Linked DNA regions of Homo sapiens: regions 2, 3 and 4 are each linked to region 1. Evidence: promoter capture Hi-C in 16 types of primary human blood cells and fetal thymus (Javierre and others, 2016). All regions are on one chromosome and are shown on one strand. The core of a region is centred on a gene start or on the middle of the fragment in contact, and the rest is flanking DNA. Distances in the headings are between cores, read along the strand shown.

Region 1 (3,714 bases), core at 725-3,224:
CTTTCTGATGTTTCTAGATCATAATATGCATTTTTGACAGGAATACTACTTAAGAGATATTGTAACCTCAGTGCCTCACATCTGGAGGCACATCATGTCATTTTATCACATAATTGGTGACATTAACTTTGATCATTTGGTTAGGGTAGTGTCGGTCAGATTTCTCCACTGTAGAGGTACCCTTGTTAACCCTTTATCATGAATAAGAAATCCAAAGACTGTGCAAATATCTTGTTCCCCAGCCAAATTTTATTCAATGATTTTAACATCTATTGATAATTGTCTGAATCCATTATTACTGTAATGGCTGCCAAATGATTTGCTAATTGTCATTTCTTCTAACATATATTAGTTGGCATTCCACCGTCATTTCACTTCTCCCCTCTTTATTTTTCTGTTTAAAAGTAAGTATGCTCTACGATTCTTTTAAAAAATTCAATGTGTTAGAATCAATTTCTATATTTATTTATTTATTTATTTATTTACTGAGACAGAGTCTCGCTCTGTCGCCCAGGCTGGAGTGCAGTGGCACGATCTCGGCTCACTGCAACCTCTGCTTCCCTGGTTCAAGCAATTCTCCCTGCCTCAGCCTCCCGAGTAGCTGGGATTATAGGCGCCCACTACCACGCCCGGCTAATTTTTGCATTTTTAGTAGAGATGGGGTTTCACACAGGCTAGTCTTGAACTCCTGACCTCAGGTGATCCACCCGCCTCAGCCTCCCAAAGTGCTGGGATTACAGGCGTAAGCCACTAAGCCCGGCCCATTATTTATTCCTGATACTCAAACTGTCTCAGATTTGGTAAGGGGGGAGCACCTTCGAGCCATCTGCTTTCTTTTGACATATCTTCCTTGACATAGCCAAGAAATCTCCTTGCTTTAAGGAGCAGGATCTTTCAAGGGCATTTTATACTTTCCCTGTCTCTGCCCTCGAATGAGCCATCTCGCCACGGAGTCTGGCTCCTTTAGGTGGAGAATGGTATTTAGAAACCAAGATATAAAGGCATATGATACATCTCAAAATAGTGAGGTGTCACTGTCCCTGTTTCCTTGAGTCACATTTGGAAGCGTGGTGTGATTTATAATCCTACCTCGACTATTGCCTGTGTGACCTAGGCAATTCCCTTTATTCCTTGAGGTCTTCTTCGTCCTTTGGGGAAAAAAATTGGATTAGAGAAATATTTCTAAACTTTTTCAGAGTCACCAACGCGTTTGGGAATCTGACAGAAGCTACGGGTCCATCTCCCCAGAGACATGCTCACATAAGCAAAAACTGGCCTGTGTTTTAGGGGGTTCCAAACTCTGAAGCTCACATGAGGCTCCAAATCTCTGGATTAAGTGATCTCCAAGATCTCTTCAGCGCTGACATTGACATTCTGTGAGTCTATAAGCGACTGCACTGCTGTCAGAATGACTCCTCGGAGACATCAAAACGTGGAGGGTTTTATTATATATAGCAACGAGAAGAGAAAAGGACACAAAGAAAGGAGCCTGTGAGCAACGCATTGCTCAGCCACAGTTCTTTGCCGGTGCCAAATTTAGGACGCGCTGTACTTGTAGGTGAGAGGTTTTGGCGGGAAGGACCCCGGGTGGGCGGAGAACGCCGGGGCGGGGAAGGAGATCGCAGGCCGCATCCAGGTCTCTGCACCCCTCCGCACGGTCCGCCAGGGCTCGCTCTTGCCCTTCGCCTGGAAGGCCGAGGAACGGAGCGGGCCGAGCAGCGACCCCGCCCCTGGCAGCGGTGAGGCGGAGGGGCGAGGGGAGGGCGTCTGAGCCCGGAAGGAGCGCGCCGGCCAGGCTCGCGCCCCTCCCCGTGCGCCGTCCCCCACTCTCCAGCAGCCGACGTCGGCGGTGCTTCGGTCGCCATGGTGACCAATCCAGGCTCGGGCCCGCCCCCGCCCCCCTGCCCCGGCCCCCTGACGTCGGCGCACGTCAGCGGCGGCGCGCGCCTGGCTGGGCCCTGGGGAGCGGGAGGGAAGGAGCGAAGGAGCGAAGGAGCAAGCGGAGCGGCCGTCGCCCAAGCCAAGCCGCGCTGCCAACCCTCCCGCCCGCCCGCGCTCCTGTCCGCCGTGTCTAGCAGCGGGGCCCAGCATGGTCATGGCGGATGGCCCGAGGCACTTGCAGCGCGGGCCGGTCCGGGTGGGGTTCTACGACATCGAGGGCACGCTGGGCAAGGGCAACTTCGCTGTGGTGAAGCTGGGGCGGCACCGGATCACCAAGACGGAGGTGCGGCCCGGGGCTCGGCGGGAGCGTCCGAGGCGAGGGTTCGGGAGAGGAGCTGCTTACCGAGAGGGGCGGCCGCAGTGGTGGGACCGGGGAGACCCGAGAGGCCGCCTCACTGGCGGAGGCGAGCGGGCCTGGGACTGTGAGGACCCAGGAGGTGCAGGGGGTCGGTGAGCAGCGAAGGGATCGGGCCCGGGCACCCGGACCCGAGTGTCGTCCGACTGGAAACGCAACCAGCCGGGGCTTTGCTTTCCCCTACGCCACCCCCGGTGGCCACCCGGAATTTCGCCCAGAGCCCCCCACCCGGGCCGTGACCTGGTCTGTGGCCTCCGCTCCGGAGCCCAAGTTCCGCGTCTTCCCTGCTTTCGGCTGGGGGTGGGGTGGGAGGGGAAGTCTCGGTGTTCCCAGGCTGCGCCGTGAGAGACGTCGCCGGCCCGAGGAGGGGACCGCCTGCGCTTGGGCTCCGCGGATGGGGGATCGTGCGGCCCCCGTGACCCCGGCGCCCCTCCCCTGCCCGACGAGGAAGGGCCCCATGGCTGGGAATACCCCCACGGCCACTGTCCATCTCCTCTCCTTCCTTTTGGCCCAGGGTGTCTCTGATTTGGTGTCTGGCTAGCTTGATCTCTTGCCTGGGGCATTTCCATTTAATGCCCCAGACAATAGAACTGGTTAAAATGGTCATCTCTGCATTTGCACGGTGGGTGGATTGGTCTTCTACTTGTCTAGGGTTGTCACTGTACCAGGTGTGCATTCTGGCTGTAATACGCATTCTTTAAACCATATCAGATTCTGCCTCTACTCATAAAGCCCTCAACTGCTTCCTGACGGTGAATCCTGCACCCTCTTCATTGCACATTCTAATGCACCGCACATACTCTCTCACAAGTCTCTGTTCTTACCTAACCCGCCCCCCTTCCTTCCACTGCCTCAAGCTGCTCTCCTCAGGGTCTCTATTTTAAGACGTGCAAATTAAATACCTTAGAAGAACGGTAGAAACAAAACCATTCTTTAGAATAAAACCTAGTGGTTTTGACGTACTCTACTCTGCCTTATTGTAGTTCCTCCTGGAGTTTCATCCTTTTCCTGTTTGTTTGCCCTCCAGTTTTGGTCCTATTCTGCTTTTTCCCTTGTTAGTACGAATGTACTGGAGTTTGAGTGTAGAATAAAGTAGGACTTCTTTTCAGAATGACTTATGTAAGGCGAAGGGCACTTGCAAACGTGAGTGATTTTTGGAGTTGCAGTTGTACTTAGAAGTTTTGCTTAATCCCGTTTCCAAAAGGAAGGGGTATATGTCATTCTGTCTTCTTTACTTTTTGCCTTCCCCTGCTGGTCCTGAACCAGTCCAAATCTGACTTATCTTTTAGAATCAGGACCAAGGTCAGATATTTTCTTCTCACAGATTTACCAGTTAGCAATTTAGATTGTTTGTAATGATAATGATAACTTGACTATAGTGATATTGTTAAATCTTAATCTGATCCCAGCATTTTTTA
Region 2 (3,714 bases), core at 426-2,925, 480 kb after region 1:
GAGGTCAAGAGATTGAGACCATCCTAGCCAACATGGTGAAACCCCAGCTCTACTAAAAATACAAAAATTAGCCGGGCGTGGTGGCATGCGCCTGTAGTCCCAGCTACTCGGGAGGCTGAGGCAGGAGAATCACTTGAACCCAGGAGGTGGAGGTTGCAGTTGAGCCGAGATTGCACCACTGCACTCCAGCCTGGCAACTGAGTGAGACTCTGTCTCAAGAAAAAAAGAAAAAAATAATAATAAGGCTGGGCGCGGTGGCTCATGCTTGTAATCCCAGCACTTTGGGAGGCCAAAGCGGGCAGATCCATGAGGTCAGGAGTTTGAGACCAGCCTGGCCAACATAATGAAACCCCATCTCTACTAAAAATACAAAAATTAGCCAGGCATGGTAGCATGTGCCTGTAGTCCCAGCTACTCGGGAGGCTAAGGCAGGAGAATCACTTGAAATCGGGAGGCGGAGGTTGCAGTGAGCTGAGATCACGCCACTGCACTCCAGCCTGGGCAAGAGTGAGACTCCATCTCAAAAAAAAAAAAAAAAATTGTCCCCATGTAGACAGCATGATATTATGAAGTGTTTTTGGAAAAGTGCTTCATAGCTAAAGAGCAGAGTGTAAGAGTTCGTTAGTGTTTCTTAAGGAAAGCAATGGCAAGTTCTCTTACAAATGGACAAAATAATCTTGTATGTCTGAAGTGATAGTGTACAGTACAGGAAATGTAGCTGTTACTGAGCTATAATGGGGGCTTGGTTCTACCATATCTCTACTTTGTGTTTATGTTTGTGTATGCATGTACTCCAAAGTCTTTCTAATGTTGCTTTAATTTCCAAAAATGTATGCATTGCTTTAACAATACATGTGATGTGTCATATTACAGATGGGGTCACAGTGGTTATAAAGAGTTATACCCTGAAGAATTTGAAACAGACAGGTAAGGAAAATAGGCTTACTGAAAGAAACTAAGATGGTACAAAATCTGTATTATAAATTGATTTCTTAACTTTTACGAAGAATATACTTGCCATCAAAAATGTAGCTAGAGAAACAATAGGTGATTTAGTTAGGAGGTGATCCCTGTTTTCCCATTCTCTGGTTGATGTTTGGCATGTCTGTAAGCATTTTGGTTTTTATATATAGTATTCCATACAGTAACTCAGTATGGCAGCTTAGAATTTTTACCTTCATTTTAAAGATGAGGAAACAAAAACTCAATGAGAATATTAAAGTGTTAAAGTATACATTAAAGTGCTTATTTAAAATTCAGATGTTAACCTCAATTTTTTAATCTAGAATGCAAAATATTAAAATAATACGCTTTTTTTTTACATAAAAGCTTCTATTTTTTAACTTTTCTTATTAGTAGTGATCAGCAAGATATTACCAACGGGAAGAAAACATCTCCCCAGGTAAAGTCATCTACCCATGAATCCCGCAAACACAAGAAGTCAAAGAAATCCCACAAAAAAAAGCAGAAAAAAAGGTCACACAAAAAACAGAAGAAAAGCAAAAAGGAAGCCACAGATATAACAGCAGATTCCTCGAGTGAGTTCTCAGAAGAAACTGGGGCTTCTGGTACAAGGAAAGGGAAACAACCACATAAACGCAAGAAAAAATCCAGGAAAAAGTCTCTCAAAAAACCTGCTTTATTCTTAGAGGCAGAAAGTAACACTTCACATTCAGATGATTCAGCATCCAGCAGTTCTGAGGAAAGTGAGGAAAGAGACACTAAGAAAACCAAAAGGAAAAAGAGAGAGAAAAAAGCCCATACCTCTGTAGCCAACAATGAAATACAGGAGAGGACAAACAAACGCACAAATTGGAAAGTAGCTACAGATGAAAGGTCTGCTGAGAGCTCAGAGGATGACTAAATGGGAAACACTTTTGTTTTCCACATGACTGTGGATATTTACAGTTCTTACTCCTTGTGGTTTTGCCAGTGACTCTTGTTCAGCACGGGGCCTGAGGTCAGAGCTGTCTTGTGCCATCTGTATGTTCTGACAGACGTCTTGTCTTCTATTTTGGCGTTAAGCTTGATCCCCTTTTCTTGTTAAAAGGGAATCTGGTATTTTGTTATGAAGGTTTCTTGAAGAGATTATTTTTTTTTGCAATTAATTACGTTTAGTGTAGAGTGCATATACAGCAAATTAAAGGACCCAGAAAGCTGGATCCAATAGTGACCTGGGTACACCAATCGGAATATTGAATTTGGGGAAGTCAAGGGCTGGGATCAAGAGGTGGATTGGAACTAATGCCATGTAGGATGGTATGACAAGGCAACACTGTATTGCTCTCTGTTTATATAGCAGGTGTCACAACTAACTTGTCTTTAGCCTTGGTGCTTTGATCCTTCTATATTTTGACCCCACAGGTGTGGTCCGGTTTACTTAATCAGGACATGGGCCTAAGAACAAACCTTTTCCCTTCATGATAACATCCATAGACAACTTATTAGAAGGGACTAGAGTTTTTGCAAATTTCCCTGCTGGATGGGGCCTATAGCTATACTTAGTATATGCCTAAACATGGTAATTGGATAGTAAATGGTTTTCTAGTTCCATTGCTGTATATTTGCCTAAATGGACTTGTGTTCAAATTATTTCTTCAATTGTCATAGATAATCCTGTACCAAATGGGGAAGAATTAGGAAATAATCATGTTGTCTAATGGTACTCTGGATTCAGGGCAGCAACTGCCATTTAAATGTTGTCTTGTTCATTTCTAAATCTGTTCATGAAGTTTAGGTTTTCCCTGAAACTAAGTTGAATTATTTCCAAAATGAAACAGGCTTCTCAGGGACATATCCACTTCTTCCCAGTCTGCCTTTGGATTAAAGCACCAAGCAGAGACCACATTAATTCCCTTTGCTATACTGTGATCCTTAGTATGTTAATTCTTAAGAAACCAACATATCACTGAAAGAAGGCTGGCAGAACGCAAGTGCATTTTTTCACTGTGGGAAGAAAGATCAAGTGACGTATTATTTTTTCCTGGTTGTCACTTAATGGGCTGAGTAAAAAGCTTGAAAACTCAGACTTTCGGTCTTGGTTCTGCCACTCATTGGTTATGAGGAGGCCCAGAGCAGGTAAGTTCACCTTCCTGGCCTTACTTTCCTGATGTGTAATACGGAATTACTTCACAGTAGCATGACAGTATAAGACACCAGCAGTAGATACAACTATGATGACATTCCATGAGTTGGTATTTTTAGTTCTAACTGCTAAATTTGTTCTCTTTACGGGACAGATTTCTAATAAAGTGCTTGGTCTTAAAATACATGGTTGGACAGAGGTGCCCTATCCCTTAACTATGAGCAGGTGCTACCTTTTGGGATATTTATTTTAAATTTTAATACTTTGGTACTCAATTGTCAGTGTTCCATGGTGTGTATTTTTATTTTTGGGATTAGTGGGGGTCTAAAGGGAGAAGAATAGTCTCTAATTACTACCTCTTAACCTAAAGCAATTATTTTGTTCCTGGAGCAAGTTAAATCTTTGTTGGAAGGAGCTTTGGCCATATATTTTTTAGCATGCATTGTTTCTGTGCCCTGAAAGTACCTGAAAGGTTTTAAGCACAGACTCAGGAAAATGTGCCAGTAGAACAGGCCATCTCCAGGAAATTGGCTCTATTTGGGTCCTGACCTTCCCTTCCTCCCAAGTTAGCAGGCTTGTTCTTTCGCAAGGAATACACATCTTGCCTTTTTTTTTTTTTTTTTGCCATG
Region 3 (3,714 bases), core at 1,215-3,714, 420 kb after region 1:
GCATTCTAGGAGGCCTCCTGACTTATTCATAGTATTGTCGCCTGGTGGCATTGGTGTGGGGTAGCTTGTCCTGCTACTTGCTAAAGTTCTCTTTCTTTGAGAAAACTGAGGAACCAGAATGCTTAGAGTTCATAAAATAATCTCTAAACCATGTTAGGTTAAAACAAAATGACCATCTCACAAAAACGAGTTTAGTTGAATGCTCAATTCCTTACAAAATCTTCATTTAAGGCTGAGTGTGGTGGCTCATGCCTGTAATTCCAGCACTTTGGGAGGCCGAGGCAGGAAGACTGCTTGAGCCCAGGAGTTCAAGACCAGCCTGGGCAACGTAGGAAGACTCCGTCTCTACATAGAAATTTTATTATAAAAGTAGCTGGGGATGGTGGCACACACCTGTAGTCCCAGCTACTCAGGAGGTTGAGGTGGGAAGATTGCTTGAGCCCAGGAGTTTGAGGTTGCAGTGAGCTGATCATGCCACTGCACTCTAGCCTAGGCTACAGAGCAGGACCCCATCTCCAAAAAAAAAAAAAAAAAAGTCATTTAAAAACTGAAGAATGTTCTCTTCTTGCTCAGTTCCCTAAATTAGCTGGGGGGATTGGGATACTTTACAATTTTTACATTTTTAAATTTGAAGAATTTGTTTTAAACTTACTTGGTAATGGCACTTCTACTTACTGACCAACTTTTCAGCTCTTTTTGACCAGGATGGTTGCAAATTAGGGAAAATATCTTTATACTATACATCCAATTCAAGAGGACTTTAATTACTTAAAAGCATTTAGGTCATAATTAAAATTATTTTCACTGTTTCCATAAAATAAGCATTATGATTGCACACTCCTTCTACTGTCTGAATTTATGTAAGAGGTATAGCTTGCTTAAAATACATATATATGTAAAGTTATATTTTCTTAGAAACATGGATGTTTACAGCCATTGCTTTCAAAGAGATTATTACTGTGTATTCTCCCTGTTTTACAATATGTTTTCATGAAGACTATGTTACACCAGAGGCTTCTGATTATCAAAGTGATAACCAGTTTTAACTGCCGGTATGTACCAGATTTGTGAACTAATTTAAAAAACCACAAACTATGAATAAAATGGGGTTTGCAAACTAAATATCATTAATGATTTTCACTTGCGTTTACTGATGAGATTAATCAATAAAGCCATTTACATTTAGTGAAAGCAAATTTCCTCAAGTGATCTCCCTGGTAGCATGTTTACTCACTATGTGGAGTGGAGATAAGAATTACTTTATTGCTACAGATATTTTACAATTAGTATTTCTATGTAAGCACATAGGCTATTATCAAGGACAATTTATTTAGCACTTATTTTGAAATTATATGTAAACATGCAAACAAATAAGAACCCAAGAGTATAAACTCTATGACAAAAGTCAGTATGCAAGCATTAAGAACTCTTTCAGAAATGTGTATTTAAAATGACCAGAATTCCCAGATCATTTGAAAGCTGCCTCTTAAATGCCTCTTATCAATTCATCTTAAATGTTTGCTATATTAAATTCTTTATCCCTGAGTGCCTTCATTTGACTTCCAATTACGTATTTTCAACTATTAATTGGCTATCCCATTATGTTAAAATTAAATATGTACATAACTCAAAATCTTTCACTACCAACTAATTTCTGTTTCTCTCAATATCAGTGATATCACCATTCTCTTAAGTATCTCTATTTCAAACCTTTGAGTCTTGAGTCTCCTTTTCCATAATTTCCTTTATCCAGTCTGTTTAGTGGAATTCAAGCTTGTTCTCTCAGGACTGATTTGAGAAACCTAAGCATTCCTAGCCCACCTCTGGGGTAAGCTCGCCATCTCTGGACTGTTTGAGCTATGCATTCCTATAATTTAACTACACTTAAGTCAAAAGTATATTCAAGACACAAACTCGCTATTCTTTGAAAAATGCAAAACAGGGTTTAAGCAAGCATACCTAAGTGCACAACAGATCCGGAAGATCACCTCATACTTTATACCAAAGTCTAATTTAGATCCAGTTATTAAGTTCAAATGCAGCAAAAGCAGCAAGATATTTTAGCCAACTCAAAAACATTTTTATAATAATTTATAAGTCCTGGGCGGGCATGGTGGCTCGCGCCTGTAATCTCAGCACTTTGGGAGGCCGAGGCAGGTGGATCACCTGAAGTCAGGAGTTTGAGACCAGCATGACTAACATGGTGAAACCCCGTATCTACTAAAAACACAAAATTAGCTGGGCATGGTGGCACGTGCCTGTAATCCCAGCACTCGGGAGGCTGAGGCAGGAGAATCGCTTGAACCTGGGAGGTGGAGGTTGCAGTGAGCCGGGATCATGCCACTGCACTCCAGCCTGGGCGACAGAGTGAGACTCCATCCCCAAATAATAGTAATAAGTCCTTTCAGTAATTACAATTATTCTTTCATTGCTTCTTCCAATTGTTAATTCATAAGTTGTACATAATTGTAACAATATAATTGCTCTCTTCATATTATTTAAAATATGCCTTTTCATTCAATCTAGAAATTTTATATTTCTCAATTATATTGCTTACATATTATTCTGATAGACAGCTGTACCTGCTTAAACATTCCAATTTAAGTAGGCATGAAATAGTACATCCAATCTGTTTTAGTTTTCCAAATTAATTGTTAGCAAGATTAGCCCCCATTTTTTTTTTTTTTTAACAGATGGGAGTCTCATTATGTTGCCCAGGCTGGTCTCAAACTCTTGGGCTCAAGTGATTCCCCCACCTCAGCCTCTCAAGCATTGCTGGGACTACAGGCATGCACCACCGCTCCTGGCTAAAATCTTGTTTTAAGTTTCTTCCCTCCAACTTCCTCTTGCGTTCTTGGTGTTCTCTAACCATCTCTACAGGGGGGAGGTGGTGATACACAGCACATGCTTCCTCCTTATCTAATGTCACCTTCAGTTCAGAAACGATATGTTTTCTAATTAAAAGACAACTTTACAAGAGAAGCGTGCCTAACAAAATGTGTAGATGACTTTTTATTCATTGATTCAAAAGACATACATTCAGCCCCCGCTATTTACTGGATATTAAGCTCTGGGGCTACATGGAAGGACCACGCAGACACTCTTCATGCCTTCAACGGCTTACAGTTAAGTTTTTCAAACATTTGAAACATAACGAAGCTTTTGGTTACTTAAAAGAATTCTATGGTATTAGGGAGCAACACCTGTTTTGTAAACCTATATCTTCATACAGGGAATATGCTTAATCTTGCTACAGTATACATGAATGCGGGAATGTATCTTCCTCTGGGCTGCCTTTCGTTACCACTTGGCTGGGTGGAACACCTGTTCACTCCACTTTCCACTTGGGCTACAAACCTGAAACGAAATCTTTGCAACCAGTACAGCCTGCGCGGGGCGCGGCCCAGTCCATCCCCCTTCGGATGCGCAGAAGCAGAGGTCACCACGCCGGACCCCTCGATTCCCTCGCGGGCGATTCCTGGCTCCTTCACCACCCCAGCACTCCAAGACCCCCGCCCTTTGGCCTGAGGCTCCCACTGCCCTAGCCAGTTCCCGGGCTCACTTCCAGCTTTTCCAGAAAGCTTGGCCACGCCCCTCGGCCCAGACTCTCAGGCCACTCGGCCGCAATTAACCCGCGTCTCTGCGCCTTTTTAGGCCCCTCCCCCTCGGTCGTGCCCTTGTCATCTCTTAGGCCCCGTCTCACCCTTTCGGATG
Region 4 (3,714 bases), core at 590-3,089, 260 kb after region 1:
ACTGTGCCTAACACATAGCAGATGCTCAATGGTCATTATTCTTATTAGAATTAATCATAATAGTAAGTGCTAAGAGAAATATTCTTCCATTTCCCAGAATCTTTGAAAGCCCAATTGATTAACTTCAGATTCTATGCAGACAATATGGAGCTAATCCAACATTAAGATTTACTATATGCCCAGCGATATATGGGAGGAGAACTGTTAGTTTCTTACCCAAGAGCTGCACTGAATGGCCAGCCTAAGATAGCCCCAGCTGCTACTCCCAGCACAGCAATGGAAGTCTTGTCCATATACCATCCAGTCATGGCTATCAACGTAGTGTACATACAGAAGCTACTAGGAAGGAATGCTGCAAGAGTAAAGAAGTGAAAAAAGGCAGGAGGACAAGAGCTCGAGGTTAATTAGGTATCAATTAAAAACTGATTAAAAATTTACCTACATTATAAAATGTCAATAAACAGGTACATAATTGGGGAAATGCTATATTAGAAAGGACAGCAAAGTGATATTCTTTTTTAAAAAAATGAAGTTCAATGACTCTTATTTTTCTCACTCCTGGTTTTTTTTTTTAGACGGAGTCTTGCTCTATCACCAGGCTGGAGTGCAGTGGTGGGATCTCAGCTCACTGCAACCTGATTCCCTGGTTCAAGCGATTCTCTTGACTGAGCCTACCGAGTAGCTGGGATTACAGGCACGTGCCACCACACCCAGCTAATTTTTGTATTTTTAGTAGAGACGGGGTTTCACCATGTTGGCCAGGCTGGTCTCGAGCTCTTGACCTCGTGATCTGCCTGTCTCGACCTCCCAAAGTACCGGGATTACAGGCGTGAACCACCGCACCTGGCCTCTCCTTCCTGTTTTTTTAGGTACCAACCCAATTATACAATTCTAACCATGTAATTCCTCTCCCAGCCTACACCTCAAATCAAAAACTCATAGAATTCCACGCTCCCCAGGAACACCCCATGATTATATTTCCAGGAAGGGAATATGCTTTAAAAGACTTAGAGCCATTGCTGACAATTTACTTCTGAAGAAGCTTATCTTCCATTGGTCCTCTGAGACTGTCCTGGTCCTAACCTCTAGCCCCGGAAATTCTAGAAAGCCTCCTCAAGGGCCAGATATTGTATGGCAGCAATGCTTTGCACTCTCCACCTGCTGACACAGATAATCTGGCCTTTAAATAGCCCCCTAATTAGTTCCATCTACCTCAACCTTGTTTTATACAGCAGAGGACAGAGTACAGGGTCTCTGGAACAGAAACAATTGATTAAAGTGTTTCTAGTAACTCTGAACAAAAATGCAGATCTGCCTCTTCTGCTGCAGAAAGTCTGAATCAGTAGGGAAGAAAAATCAGTATCAACTACAAAACAACCACAATTAATAGGCAGTGAGGTTTTTTTAAACTCAGCAAAGGGTTCAGAGGCTCTGTATGAAAAGATGCCTTCAACTTATCTGTGTCTCAAATGAGATTACAAAACTAAAGATATTCTAAGGAATTTTCTACATATAAAGATCAATTGTAGGAGTAGCAGGCCAGGCACAGTGGCTCATGTCTTTAATCTCAGTACTCTGGGAGGCCAAGGTGTGGGGGGCTGCTTGAGGCTAAGAGTTTGAGACCAGCCTGGGCAACACAGTGAAACTCCATCTCTACAAAAAACTTTAAAACTAGCCAGGCATGGTGATGCATGCCTATAGTCCTAGCTACTTGGGAGGCTGTAGTGGAAAGACTGCTAGAGCCCAGGAATTCAAGGCTGCAGTGAGCTACGATTGTGCCACTGCACTCTAACCTGCCTAGGTGAAGAGCAAGACCTTGCACTTGAAAAGAAAAGAGGCCACGTGCGGTGGCTCACACCTGTAATCCCAGCACTTTGGGAGACTGAGGCGGGTGGATCACGTGGTCAGGAGTTTGAGAACAGCCTGACCAACATGGTGAAACCCCATCTCTATTAAAAATAAAAAAATTAGCTGGGCGTGGTGGTGCACGCCTGTAATCCCAGCTACTCAGGAGCCTGAGGCAAGAGAATCGCTTGAACCTTGGGAGGAGGGGGTTGCAATGAGCCGAGATGGCATCACTGCACTCCAGCCTGGGCAAACAGAGCGAGACTCTTGTCTCAAAAAAAAAGAAAAGAAAAGAAAAGAAAAAAAGTAGTAGGAAAGCAACTTAAAAAACATCTGAGGTACACCCTTTACCAATAAATGTCAAATAATAATGATGCCATCCAAAGCTGTCAGTTCCAGCTGCAGTGTAGAGGACAAAGGGGGCAGAGGAATCTGAGGGTAGAGCACAGATGCATTTAGGACAGGCTCTCAAAGTCACTCTGGAGTACAGCCCTGACATCTCTGCAGAACAACATCAATTTTGATATATTCAATAAGGGAAAAGTAAGCATATAATTTTGTGCCAGATACTATGTTTTTGTGTATACTCTGTATATACTAGATCCTGGTACACACAAGCAGAAACTAAAATTGAGACAATTATATCCAGTAACTTAATTTTTCTGGAGAACTGGGAATAGACTACCATTTGGCAGTGGACCAACTTGATTCAGCTTATACAACACAAATGTTCAATGGCAGAACAGTCTGAAAGCCAATGCTCTAGAGTGAGGTTTTTATTCTAAATTTCCAGAAGCTTATTATTAAAAGAAAGCCCAGCAGAAGATGCACATAGAATACATATCAAATAATGTATCATCAGTAGAAAACAGAATCATCAACAACAGGTCTTTATGTACAAATAACTTCTTTAAACAAAATAAAAGAATTACTTTCTTTCCACTAATGGCCAAGAAAGGAGGTGGGTGGTTGATGCAAGAATGGAATAGAAAACATCCTGGTGAGACTACCAGCTCTACCATTTATGAATTTTGACTTTTAGTAAATCATTTCATCTACGTTTCAATGTCCTTACCTGCAAAAGTGAGAAAATGTTTTTCTTACTTACATGGTAGGATTGTTACAAAGGTCAATCAAGATAATGTAGATAACAGTGCTCTGCAAATTATTGACATGTTCTACAAATATAACCTACATTTGGACAAATGCTTCCTTTAAATGCAACTGTGAACTATTGGTGAACCTGCAATTCCCTCATCTGCCCTTTTACTTACCTGGTGATGACCTGCAATTCCCTCATCTGCCCTTTTACTTACCTGATGATGAGCAAAACATGCCAGTGCTGAGAACCAAGAAGGCTAGCATCATTCGACTCACGTGCAACCCAAACTTCTTGCACACAGCCCTAGGAAAAAGGCAAAGACTATCAGCATTGAGAATATTAGGAATAGACATTTCAAATCAAAGGAGAAAAACACGTACCACAGATAACACTGAAGATCTAAAGTCAAACACAAAACTACCTTGTCAGGTTTGTTAGCAATTCACTGTGCATAAGAAACCCAAACATTCTTATTTCTGACACAGAAGAGAAGCTCCCTACCTAAAAGAAAATGTATTCTTTACATGCTAAGATTATATCTATCAAGTGGAAAATAGAATGATGTGGTGAAAAATAATAGACCTCAGATACAGGTGGGCACACATTCAAATTCTGGCTCTGCCACTTACTAGCAGTGGAACCCTACTCTGGTTGAATAATGTCTCTGTCTGATTCCTCAAGCATAAAATAATGATAATAATACAAACTTTGTAAGGTTTCTGTGAGGACAATGCAAGGAAAAGTGCTTAGGAGAGTGCCTGGCACAT

Evidence for each region. The method cuts DNA at HindIII sites, captures the fragments that hold promoters and counts their contacts. A CHiCAGO score of 5 or more calls a contact.
Region 2: a contact is called between a fragment that was not itself captured here and the fragment with the promoter of SIK2 in region 1, in 1 of 17 cell types (non-activated CD4 T cells). The highest score is 6.1, in non-activated CD4 T cells.
Region 3: a contact is called between a fragment that was not itself captured here and the fragment with the promoter of SIK2 in region 1, in 1 of 17 cell types (erythroblasts). The highest score is 5.0, in erythroblasts.
Region 4: a fragment that was not itself captured here is called in contact with the fragment with the promoter of SIK2 in region 1 in 16 of 17 cell types (erythroblasts, naive B cells, M2 macrophages and 13 more); the score reaches 8.9 in erythroblasts.

What each region holds. Positions count from the first base shown.
Region 1 is chr11:111,600,475-111,604,188 of GRCh38, forward strand. It overlaps SIK2 (salt inducible kinase 2), which reads left to right and starts at 1,975. Exons shown (of 15, transcript NM_015191.3): 1 at 1,975-2,224. The coding sequence starts at 2,090. RefSeq lists an enhancer at 1,361-1,500 and silencers at 1,591-2,030, 2,581-2,740. The HindIII fragment of the contact is 10,147 bases long and covers 1-3,714 here.
Region 2 is chr11:112,081,109-112,084,822 of GRCh38, forward strand. NKAPD1 (NKAP domain containing 1) reads left to right here. Exons shown (of 6, transcript NM_018195.4): 5 at 874-927; 6 at 1,357-3,714. The coding sequence ends at 1,864. TIMM8B (translocase of inner mitochondrial membrane 8 homolog B) reads right to left here. Exons shown (of 2, transcript NM_012459.4): 2 at 3,692-3,714. Among named protein-coding and RNA genes, the nearest start is that of TIMM8B, 3.8 kb to the right of the region's middle. The HindIII fragment of the contact is 696 bases long and covers 1,328-2,023 here.
Region 3 is chr11:112,021,463-112,025,176 of GRCh38, forward strand. It overlaps DIXDC1 (DIX domain containing 1), which reads left to right. Exons shown (of 20, transcript NM_001037954.4): 20 at 1-1,191. Among named protein-coding and RNA genes, the nearest start is that of DLAT, 2.1 kb to the right of the region's middle. RefSeq lists an enhancer at 2,908-3,097. The HindIII fragment of the contact is 1,386 bases long and covers 1,772-3,157 here.
Region 4 is chr11:111,857,386-111,861,099 of GRCh38, forward strand. ALG9 (ALG9 alpha-1,2-mannosyltransferase) reads right to left here. Exons shown (of 15, transcript NM_024740.2): 5 at 3,162-3,250; 6 at 217-352. Among named protein-coding and RNA genes, the nearest start is that of ALG9, 12 kb to the right of the region's middle. The HindIII fragment of the contact is 1,599 bases long and covers 1,041-2,639 here.